4 separate regions of the Homo sapiens genome follow, and all the other regions are linked to region 3. Evidence: promoter capture Hi-C in human tissues and cell types (Jung and others, 2019). All regions are on one chromosome and are shown on one strand. The core of a region is centred on a gene start or on the middle of the fragment in contact, and the rest is flanking DNA. Distances in the headings are between cores, read along the strand shown. Region 1 has its middle 5.9 kb from the start of MTFMT. Region 2 overlaps RASL12 (RAS like family 12). Region 3 holds the start of PIF1 (PIF1 5'-to-3' DNA helicase). Region 4 overlaps MTFMT (mitochondrial methionyl-tRNA formyltransferase).

Region 1 (2,700 bases), core at 20-2,519, 210 kb before region 3:
AGGCATCATCCTTAAATTTACCTGTATATTAATTTATCCATTTGGATTAAATTTTCCATTTAAGGTTTTCTGGCCAGGTGCGGTGGCTTATGCCTATAATCCCAGCACTTTGAGAAGCCAAGGCAGGTGGATCACCTGAGGTCAGGAGTTTGAGACCAGCCTGGCCAACATGGAGAAACCCTGTCTCTACTAAAAATACAAAAATTAGCCGGGCATGGTGGTGGGTGCCTGTAATCCTAGCTACCCAGGAGGCTGAGGTGGGAGAATTGCTTGCTTGAACCCGGGAGGCGGAGGTTGCGGTGAGGCAAGATCGTGCCACTGCACTCCAGCCTGGACGACAGAGTTAAGACACTCCGTCTCAAAAAAAAAAAAAAAAAAAAAAAAAAAAAAAAAAAAAAAAAAAGATTTTCTACAGTCTTGACCTCCTAGACAGAACATTTAATACATCTTGGATTCTAAGGGGGTTTGGCAATGTGGGTAGGTATTCTGAGGCATTTAGTCTCTCATTTCTGAAAACTGGATGATCTAAAGTATACAATATTATTCATTTCATGAATTTTGAGGGGTCCTCTGAAATAATATAGCAACCAAGGTAAGACTCACAAAGCTAATAATCAGGGAGATTTAGGGTAGTTCCTTTAACTATGTGTGGTGAAAGTGCCTTTCAGTTTGAACATTTAAAGCCCGCTAAATTGAGAGTTAGAGATGGAACATAAAGGACTAAAGAGATGTTTTTCATATGCCTAGCAGAACATAGAACATAAAAAAAAATACCGACAACATTTCAAAACACAATCTGAGTTTCATCATTGGTTTCATTCAGTTCTACATAATGAATTCTCCATAGGTGGATCCTGGGTCAGCAGTCCACATTTGCAGAATTATCTGCTTCTAGACAAAGGCACCCCGGCAATCCTGAGATGTAAGCGCTCTGGTACAATGTGCCAGGTATCCATGTGCAGCGGCAAAATCAGTTCACACAAAGAGGCCTGAACTCCTGAGTTTACTCCCTGCAGTATCAGTAGTTATATGATGGTACACTGTCACTCACTGCTGGTGGGAATGTAAAACGGTGTAGCCACTTTGGAAAACAGCTTGTCACTTCTAAGAATTAAAACATAGAGGCCGGGCGCAGTGGTTCACGCCTGTAATCCCAGCACTTTGGGAGGCCAAGGCAGGCAGATCACGAGGTCAGGAGATCGAGACCATCCTAGCTAACATGGTGAAACCCCGTCTCTACTAAAAATAGAAAAAAATTAGCCGGGTGTGGTGGCGGGCACCTGTAGTCCCAGCTACTCGGGAGGCTGAGGCAGGAGAATGGCATGAACCCGGGAGGCGGAGCTTGCAGTGAGCCAAGATCGCGCCACTGCAGTCTGGCCTGGGTGACAGAGCAAGACTCAGTCTCAAAAAAATAAAAAATAAATAAATAAAAAATAAAACATAGAGTGGGACTCAGCAATTCTACTTTTAGGTATATACCCAAGAGAATTGGAAACATATTTCTTTTTTTTTTTTGAGACAGAGTCTTACTTGGTTGCCCAGGCTGAAGTGCAGTGGCTTGATCTTGGCTCACTGCAACCTCTGCCTCCCGGGTGCAAGCAATTCTCCTGCCTCGGCCTCCTGAGTAGCTGGTACTACAGGCATGCACCACCACTCCCGATTAATTTTTGTGTTTTTAGTAGAGATGGGGTTTCACCATGTAGGCCAGGCTGGTCTTGAACTCCTGACCTCAAGTGATCGCCCGCCTCGGCCTCCCAAAGTTTTGGGATTACAGGTGTGAGCCACCGTGCCCAGCGGGTGGAAACATATTTCCACACAAAAGCTTGCACATGAATGTTCACGGTAGCATTATTCATCATAGCCAACAAGTGGGAACAATTCAAATGTTCAACTTGAGGCAAGATAGGTAGTCAAGGAAGTGACCATGTCCTCGGGATGCGGCAACCGTGGTGACCGTACAGTCAACACAATAAGCCCCAGCATTCGCACTGTAGTTGAGCTCATTCAAGCAAAGCTATCTACAGTAGGGAATTTCCCCTGTAAAGAGGATGTGCATTTTGGCCGGGCGCAGTGGTGCAGCCTGTAATCCCAGCATTTTGGGAGGCCAAAGCAGGAGGATTGCTTGAGCCCAGGAGCTCGAGACCAGCCTCGGCAACATGGCAAAACCCTGTCTCTACAAAAAAAAATTAGCTGGGCATGGTGGCGCGTGCCTATAGTTGGAAGGCTGAGGCGGGCGGATCACCTGAGCCTGGGAGGTCGAGGCTGCAGTGAACCGAGATCACGTCCCGGCACTTTACCCTGGGTGACAGAGCAAGACTCTGTCTCAAAAAAAAAAAAAAAAAAAAAAAAAGTGCCTGGTACAGCCCCTTCAGCCCCTACCCCCAAGGCTGTAAATTTTATTTTGATATTTCTTCCAGAAGCCAAGATCTCTGACTTATATACAAGGGCCTTTAGGCCAAGTGTGAGGAGCAAGCAGAAAGCACCTGTTAATGATAAGACTGGGTAGCTCTGGTTTAATTTATTACAGAGTCAGCTACATCAGATTGGAGGCAAGTAGGATTCCCACAGGAGAGCAGGATATAAGCAAATGAGCCTTTCTATAACTGTTACATAAGGACTGAGATGATCATTATCCCCCACAGAGGGATGTATTATAGACCTGAAGGTTTTGGCAAATCTCCAGAGAATGATAATCTATAT
Region 2 (2,700 bases), core at 47-2,546, 230 kb before region 3:
CTCTCTGAGACCGCGTGCCTCACCATGGAGTGGCACTCTGGGAAGCTAGCCCACTCTCAGCCCCTGCTCCTGCCAGGTCAGCCTTGGGCTCAGAAACTTTTCCCACCATGGCCCACTCGAGTGCCTCCTCTCATCTAGTGGCTGTGCCATTATCCTCGGGAATGGGCAGCGGGACAGCTCAGCAGTAGGTCAGGAAGATCCAGCCAGTGGAGTCTTGGCCCCAAGATCTCAGGGACCCCCCCATCTCTTCCCTCTTGTAGACATCCGACCTATGCAAGGCCAGTCTTCTTTTTCTTCCCGCCTCGATTCCCATGGCTTTCAGGTCAGAAGCCTCCAGGACCTTCCCAAGTTCCGGATATTCTATCCTCCCTTCACGGGAGGTGGTGTAGGACCAAGGCAGAATAGGTGTTGCCCCCTCTCTCCTTTTGCCCTCCTCACCATGAAATGTTGTCCCCCCTGCCCTCTCCTGCCTCTGCCCTGGTTTTATTATTTGCTTTTATGATGAGCTTGAATCTGCAACTTTGTCATTGTGAGGGCTTGAATAATGAATTTTCACAAACACAAACCCCAGGAGCCCTGAGAACTCTGCCAACCACAGGCTTCTGGAGTCACCTCTGTGGTCTAACCCTTCAGTCCAAACGACTGCTTCTCTCTAGAGCTGATCCCACAAGCCAGAGCTGTGGGTGGCCTGTTTCCTGCCCCAGGGACCCACGATGGGGTAGAGAAGAGATGGGGCTGGGAATGGCCTGCTTCCTCCAGCCACAGGCAGGGTCTAGCATAGGGGATTTGGAGTAGCTTCTTACCCTTACCCTCATCCCAAAATTCTGGCCTGGGTGACATCAGCTACCATTTATTGAGCACTGACTCTGTGCCAGGTACTGTGCTAAGCACTTGAAACAAATTGTCTTTCGTAATCCTAACAACCCTGAGAGGCAGAGGGCAGTAACCCACTGTACTGATAAGAACGCTGAGACTCAGAGAGGTGAAGATGACCCCAGGCCACCCAGCTAGTCCATGGGGCGCTGGGTGTAGGAGCTGGTCTGCCTGACTTGGCACAGCCTGCTCCTAACTCCCTGCCTCACACTGCTTCCTCACCAGGCAAGTCACCAAGGCAGAGGGTGTGGCTTTGGCAGGCAGGTTTGGGTGCCTGTTTTTCGAGGTCTCTGCCTGTCTGGACTTTGAGCACGTGCAGCATGTCTTCCACGAGGCAGTGCGAGAGGCACGGCGGGAGCTGGAGAAGAGCCCCCTGACCCGGCCCCTCTTCATCTCCGAGGAGAGGGCCCTGCCCCACCAGGCCCCGCTCACCGCGCGGCATGGGCTGGCCAGCTGCACCTTCAACACGCTCTCCACCATCAACCTGAAGGAGATGCCCACTGTGGCCCAGGCCAAGCTGGTCACCGTGAAGTCATCCCGGGCCCAGAGCAAGCGCAAGGCGCCTACCCTGACTCTCCTGAAGGGCTTCAAGATCTTCTGAGGCCCCCTCCCCAGGAAGCCTAGGCTCGGTGGCTGGACAGGACTGCAGCAGGACAGGGACTGGCTTCTCACCACCAGCCTTTCCGTCTGATGGACAGCAGACCCCGCCTCCAGCACCAAGCAGTGTCCCTACACTCAATTCACTGTGTGAGCTGGAGTGGCAGGCAGGGATGCTGCTTCTGTTCCCTCCAGGCCTTGGTCTTCATGGTAACCACCGCGTCTGTGGCCGTAGAGGGAAACAGCCACTGTGACAACCCAGAGACCTGGGGTCAGCCTTAAGTAGGAAGAAATTGCAGTGTCTATCCTGCTGCCATCAGCCCTTCCTGCTCCAGCTACAGTTGGGCCAGCTGTGGCCTTAGTGGATGGTCTGGGTGGATGGCTCTGTCAATGTCAGGCCCGAGAACAGCCTGCGGAATGACAGCCTGGGGTCCTTGTGCCACCTGGTGGACGGGAAAGGCAGGGCGGCTGCAGTTTCAGAGGCCAGAGCCTGGCCCTCCTGTCATCTGCTGACTTCACAGAAGGCCCAGGCTACAAACCCCACAGTTTATCCAAGGAAAATCTAGTTAAAATAATCCAATGGACAGAAGCCCCAGGAAGGGGTATTTCCAACACTTGGCGTCTCAATGAGGATAAAAGGGAGGGACTGTAGGTTGTCCAGCATAAGGAGCCCCAGAGTTCTTTCACCAGCAGACAGATTCTCCATGTGTTTTCCCACTGTTAAGGACTCTGTCCAAAGAACCTCAGCATCAGCTCCCTCAAGCTTAATGATCCAGGCTGCAGAAGAAAGTTGTCACTCCAGTGAGTTACCCAGGGCTCCAGGGAGCCCACAGCAGCATCAGACCCATCCAGGGGCTACAGGGCCTGCCCCCCTGCAGGTAGAAACACAGTATACCCGTTTGTCATCTGGTTTGGCAGGACCCAGGACCCTCAGCAATGAGTCTGAGTGTTCAAAGCCCACTTTAGAACCTAAAGCATTTTGGGTTAATAAAGCAAAATTTTGCTTATGTTATTTGGTGGTGTCACCGCAGCTTATACCAAGACACCATGGCTCAGACATGGGATCAGGACACACCTTTGAGATCCCACTGTTAGCAAGAAAAGGCTGTCCAAGGCAGGCAGTGTGGTAGTTGTCTGATTTTGTTTACCACACGCCAGGTCCCAGGGAAGTCTTGCACAGACTCTTAGCAGACAAGCAGGGAAAAGAGAGGGTCCTGGTGGGTGGAAGGA
Region 3 (2,700 bases), core at 201-2,700:
TCTTTGTTCAAAACGCCAAGAACCTGGACAACTTTCAGTCATCACCCTCTACCGCTAACAGACTGGGAGCAGTGTGGTGTAGTAGCTAAGCCCCATGGAGTGATTAAGCGAGCAGGTAATCTGGGTTCAATGTTTGGTTTTGCTCTCCATATCAGCTATGTGACCTTCAGTAAAATCTCTGGAAGCCTTGCTTTTTTCTCATTTGAAAAATAAGGTCCGGGCTCATGCCTGTAATCCTAGGACTTCGGGAGGCCACGGTGGGTGGATCGTTTGACCTCCGGAGTTCGAGACAAGCCTGGGAAACATGGTGACATCCCGTCTATACGAAAAAAAAATTATATATATATATGTGTGTGTATATATATATATGTGTGTGTATATATATATGTGTGTGTATATATATGTGTGTGTATATATGTGTGTGTGTGTGTATATATATATATATATATATATATATATATATATATATATAAATTAGCTGGGTGTGCATCTGTAGTTCCAGCTACCTGGGGGGCTGAGGCGGGAGGATCACCAGAGCCCAGGAGGCGGAGGTTGCAGTGAGCCACGATCGCGCCACGGCAGAGGTTGCAGTGAGCAGAGATTGTGCCACTGCACTCCACTACAGCCTGGGCGACAGAGTGAGCCCTAAGAAGGAAAAAGGAAAGGAAAGGGCAATTTAATCCATGGTAGTTATCATTATCTGTAAAATGAGGTAGCCAGACTCACCTGTAAGATCCTTTCCAGCTATGTAATTCCAAGCTTCAATGAGATAATAAAGATGATTAAAAGTAAATTCTTTCAGCATCCTGTGCAAGAAGAGGGATACAATTTCCCTGAAGACAGAGACTCTACTCGCTTCCGCTGTACCCTCTGGCACGTGGCACAGGTCTCAGAGTTTCTCACTCATGGGCCTCAGGTGGGTGAGAGAGCCAAAGCGTAAAGTCCCTTACAAAGGCAGAGAAGGATGTAGAGTTGGGGGCGGGGGAGGGATTGGGCAGGCCTTGGGGTGGTCTGCCCAGAACTGGACAATGGTACTGTGAGTGTAAACAGGGGTGTGAGAGTCCAAAGGCAGATCTTCCCCAAGGCTAAGCCCAGCCTCTGTGTGCGGGCTAGAGGGGAGAGGGAGTGTGCTGGAAGGATGGTTCTGAAAATAAATCTTCGGAGTCGCGTAGGGTTTTCAGACCCGACACCACGCGCCGCCGGGTGGCTGCCGCAGCGGCGGCCTCCTCCCACCACGCCCAGCCGTCCACTGGATTTGGTATGCTCAGCCACCACCATAAACCTCCTTCCTCTAGCAGGCAATTGGTACAGCCCAAGCTCCTGGAGTAGAGACGCAAAGAAAGACACGCCCATTGTTACGCCCCTACCTCTGAGTGGCTGGAGAATTTAAAGATCCAGTCGGTGATTGGGTGATTTTCTGCCTCTAGCATTTGAAAAATTTCTAGTTTCGGAGCTTAGCCACAGGCCGGCTACGATCTGCTTGTTCATCTGAGTGTCGGCACAAGTGAGTGTCTGCCCGAACCCAGAGGTGGGGAGCAAAGAGCCTGATTTATCTAGGGGTTTCCGGCGGGAGGGTGCAAACAAATGGGTCAGCCTGAGGGAGCACGGCTTCTAGGGTCCCAGGGTCCCCCGCGATTTCCCTAGCCGAATATTTTCCACCTCGTCCCCACCTTGGTGGTGGGAAGCGCGAGGGCATGGGAATCACACTGACTTTGACTACTAGCCGCTGTGGCTTATGAAGGGCAAGTGAGTTTCCCTCTCTTAGCCTGTTTCCACGTCTGTACACGGGGAAGAGTGAGACCTGCCCGCTGCATATAAGCCAGTGAATGTACCTACAAGGCAGAAGTCGCTTATTACACGGCAGCCCTCTTTGCATCTCCCCACGGGCGATTCTCCTGCTTCCTGGGGAGAGTACTCTGAGGATTCATGTGCTCGCCCTGGGTCTCGGGGAAGGAGGATTCTTTCTGCGCAGGGACCCCTGTTCTAGTGAGGTCCTTGCAGGACACCTGAGGCTCCCTAATCCTCGGTGCCCATCCGCCGCTCTGGAAATTGTTGTGTAGCACGGTGTGTGTGTATATGTGTGTGTGTGTGTGTGTGTATATATATAGAAATTGTATATATATTGTGTGTATATATATATAGAAATTGGATATATAGAAATGGAAATTGTGTAGCAGGGTGCGTGTGTGTATATATATATATACATATATATACACACACACACACACATATATATAATGTATGCATATGTATGTATTTATATGTATGTATTTTTTTTTTAATTAGAGGGTGTCGCTATGTTGCCCAGGATGGTCTCGAGTTCCTGGGCTCAAGCGATCTTCCTTCTTCAGCCTCCCAAAGTGCTGGAATTACAAGCGCCCGCCACCACGCCCGGCTAATTTTTGTATTTTTAGTAGAGACGAGGTTTCACCATGTTGGCCAGGCTGGTCTCAGAACTCCTAACTTCAGGTGATCCGCCCACTTTAGCCTCCCAAAGTGCTGGGATTAAAGCGCGAGCCACTGCGCCCGGCCCAGGGCATATTCTAAGGGTGGATTTTCGGTTAGCCCAAAGCCCTTTCTCCGTCTTTGTGACCTCTTTGTGTTACCAGTGACAGTCCTCGTGATCTTGTGTAGCCTTGACCCTGCTCCCTGTCACGTCCTTTATAGCACCCATTACGTCCCCTATAGCACCCATTACGT
Region 4 (2,700 bases), core at 44-2,543, 180 kb before region 3:
AGGGTAAGATGGATTATCTAGTAAATAGTATTGGGATAACTGGCCAACCATTGGTGGGGGAAGCCCTCAAATCCTATCTTTTAAAATCATAGTAAGTGCTATATTATAACAATGCATATGTAGTTAACAATACTGTATGGTATACTTACAATTTGTTAATTGAGCACATTTTTCTTATGTGTTTTTTACCATAATAAAAAAATCAAAATATAGATGGATCAAGGATTTAAATATAAAAAGTAAAATCACAAGGACTATAAAAAAGCACAACTGAATAATTTGACAATATTTAATAATCTTAAAGTGTGGGGTAGGCCTTTTTAAGTATGATACGAACCACCAAAGTAATGAGAGAAAAGACTTAGAAATATAATTATGAAAATAAAAAACTTATGCATGGAAAAAATGGCTGTCCCCAAGATTAAAAGTCAACAAACTGAGGAAAATATTCACAACACATGTAAGAGTTAAAAGGCTAATTTCCTAAATATAGAAAATATTTTTGCAAATTAATGAGATAACCATCCCAGTTTTAAAAAATATAACCAAAGGGCATAAATAGGCAGGTTACAGATAAATAAATTAAAAGTGCACATAAATATATGGACAGCTTCTCAGCTTCGCTAATAATAAACAGCAAGAGATTATCATATTTTTTTCTCACTTATCCAGGCAGTTTAGCAATAAAATGTTGATGCTGTTTAACCCACGCATTCCACTTTAAAAACAAAAAACCCCAAAACTATTATCCAGAAATGTGTAAGCCCTCAAAGATATATCGACAAGGTTATTACCCTAGTTTATAGTGTTATAAATAGCAATAAATTGAAAATAACAAATATCTATCATAAAGGTAGTTGCATAAATTACATATTCATAAAATGGGTTACTGTGCAGCAGATAGAGTGAAATTGATAAGTATGTACTGATGAAACATCAATGCTTTATGGTCACATAACAAAAGTCCTTGTAAAACAGTATTGATGCAGGACTTTTTGCTCCTTAACTCAGCTAAAATCTGGGTTCTTGTCTCACAACCAGGAAAAATTAGGCACGTGGACACATTGAAAGGTGAGGAGAGTGGAATTTATTAAAAGAAAGCTCTCAGCAAAAAAAGAGGGGGTCCTGCCAACAGGCTCCCACCTCACAGATTGAATACCAGGCCACCACACAGGAGCTGAAGAGGCCAGGCTCTTCCCCTGCATAAGGCAGAAATTCCTGGTGGCTCCACCCCCATTCTTCCAGTGCTCATGCGGGCCCTTAGTCTGAGCCACGCCACCTTGATTTATTTCCTTTACTGTGCATGTGTTAAGGGACAGAACTTTTCACCATGGACATGTTGAGTCAAGCCCACTGTGCATAATGACCTGGGTGGCATTTGGCTGTCTCCTGTCTCTATCACTGTGTTCTAGATTTTTATAATAATATTTGTAGAAAAAAATACAGGGAAATGCACATCAAACTTAACAGTCGTTACCTATAGGGATGGGAATAAATACAGAATATCACTTTCTAAAATTTTTTAACATAATGTAATGCTTGCATTTTTTATAAGGATAATAAATTTTTAATTGGAAATATTAGTATATTAGATATAAACATTGATTTTAAAGTAACATTTAAGATCTTATAAATCGGCCGGGCGCGGTGGCTCACGCCTGTAATCCCAGCACTTTGGGAGGCTAAGGCGGGCGGATCATGAGGTCAGGAGATAGAGACCATCGTGGCTAACATGGTGAAACCCCGTCTCTACTTAAAATACAAAAAATTAGCCGGGCATGGTTGCAGGCGCCTGTAGTCCCAGCTACTCGGGAGGCTGAAGCAGGAGAATGGCGTGAACCCGGGAGGCGGAGCTTGCAGTGAGCCAAGATCGCGCCACTGCACTCCAGCCTGGTGACACAACGAGACTCCGTCTCAAAAAAAAAAAAAAAAAGATCTTATAAATCCTGGAAACACTGATGTAGAGAGTCATGTTTACGGTCTGTTCCATCAAACTTAGTGACTGAGTTCCCAATTCCTCTAATTGAAAGAAAAGTCCAGATTAACACAAAATAGTAGTTGAAAAGGGTTTGGGAGTTGAGTGTATTCCTTTATCATACCTTCTTTAATTTTACTTGCAGATTCCGTTGCAGACGCTCTGGATGGCGAATACCATTAAACTTCTGGATTTGGTAGAAGTTAACAGTTCAGTCCTTGCTGGTACTAACTTTTGAATAGCTAACATGGAAGCTGTTTTCACTGTAGTGTATCTGGAAATACGTCTGTTTTATCATATGTCACAATTACTAAAAATAACTTTTAGTTTGTTTCAGTTCAGTAATTATAATACTTTACATTCACTTATTGTCTTATTCTTTGCAACACTCATTCTCATATATTTTCTCATTTAATCATTACAAGAACAGGCCAGGCGCGGTGGCTCACGCCTGTAATTCCAGCACTTTGGGAGGCCAAGGTGGGTGGATCAGCTGAGGTCAGGAGTTCGAGACTAGCCTGACTGACATGGTGAAGCCCCGTCTCTACTAAATACAAAAATTTAGCTGGGCATGGTGGCACATGCCTGTAATCCCAGCTACTTGGGAGGCTGAGGCAGGAGAGTCACTTGAACCTGGGAGGCAGAGGTTTCAGTGAGCCAAGATTGCGCCGCTGCACTCCAGCCTGGGCAATGAGTGAAACTCCATTTCAAAAAAAAAAAAAAAA

Evidence for each region. Contacts are between HindIII fragments. The study calls those that stand out against the background at their distance.
Region 1: a fragment that was not itself captured here is called in contact with the fragment with the promoter of PIF1 in region 3 in 1 of the 25 tissues and cell types used here (spleen).
Region 2: a fragment that was not itself captured here is called in contact with the fragment with the promoter of PIF1 in region 3 in 1 of the 25 tissues and cell types used here (adrenal gland).
Region 4: a contact is called between a fragment that was not itself captured here and the fragment with the promoter of PIF1 in region 3, in 2 of the 25 tissues and cell types used here (IMR-90 fibroblasts and spleen).

Annotation. Positions count from the first base shown.
Region 1 is chr15:65,034,211-65,036,910 of GRCh38, reverse strand. No RefSeq gene overlaps it. Among named protein-coding and RNA genes, the nearest start is that of MTFMT, 5.9 kb to the right of the region's middle. The HindIII fragment of the contact is 4,917 bases long and covers 1-2,700 here.
Region 2 is chr15:65,053,673-65,056,372 of GRCh38, reverse strand. It overlaps RASL12 (RAS like family 12), which reads left to right. Exons shown (of 5, transcript NM_016563.4): 5 at 1,099-2,700. The coding sequence ends at 1,474. Among named protein-coding and RNA genes, the nearest start is that of SLC51B, 9.6 kb to the right of the region's middle. RefSeq lists enhancers at 940-1,440, 1,441-1,941. The HindIII fragment of the contact is 7,731 bases long and covers 1-2,700 here.
Region 3 is chr15:64,824,397-64,827,096 of GRCh38, reverse strand. It overlaps PIF1 (PIF1 5'-to-3' DNA helicase), which reads left to right and starts at 1,450. Exons shown (of 13, transcript NM_001286496.2): 1 at 1,450-1,528. RefSeq lists enhancers at 1,188-1,317, 2,507-2,700. The HindIII fragment of the contact is 20,575 bases long and covers 1-2,700 here.
Region 4 is chr15:65,005,612-65,008,311 of GRCh38, reverse strand. It overlaps MTFMT (mitochondrial methionyl-tRNA formyltransferase), which reads left to right. Exons shown (of 9, transcript NM_139242.4): 7 at 2,121-2,199. Among named protein-coding and RNA genes, the nearest start is that of SPG21, 17 kb to the right of the region's middle. The HindIII fragment of the contact is 5,429 bases long and covers 1-2,700 here.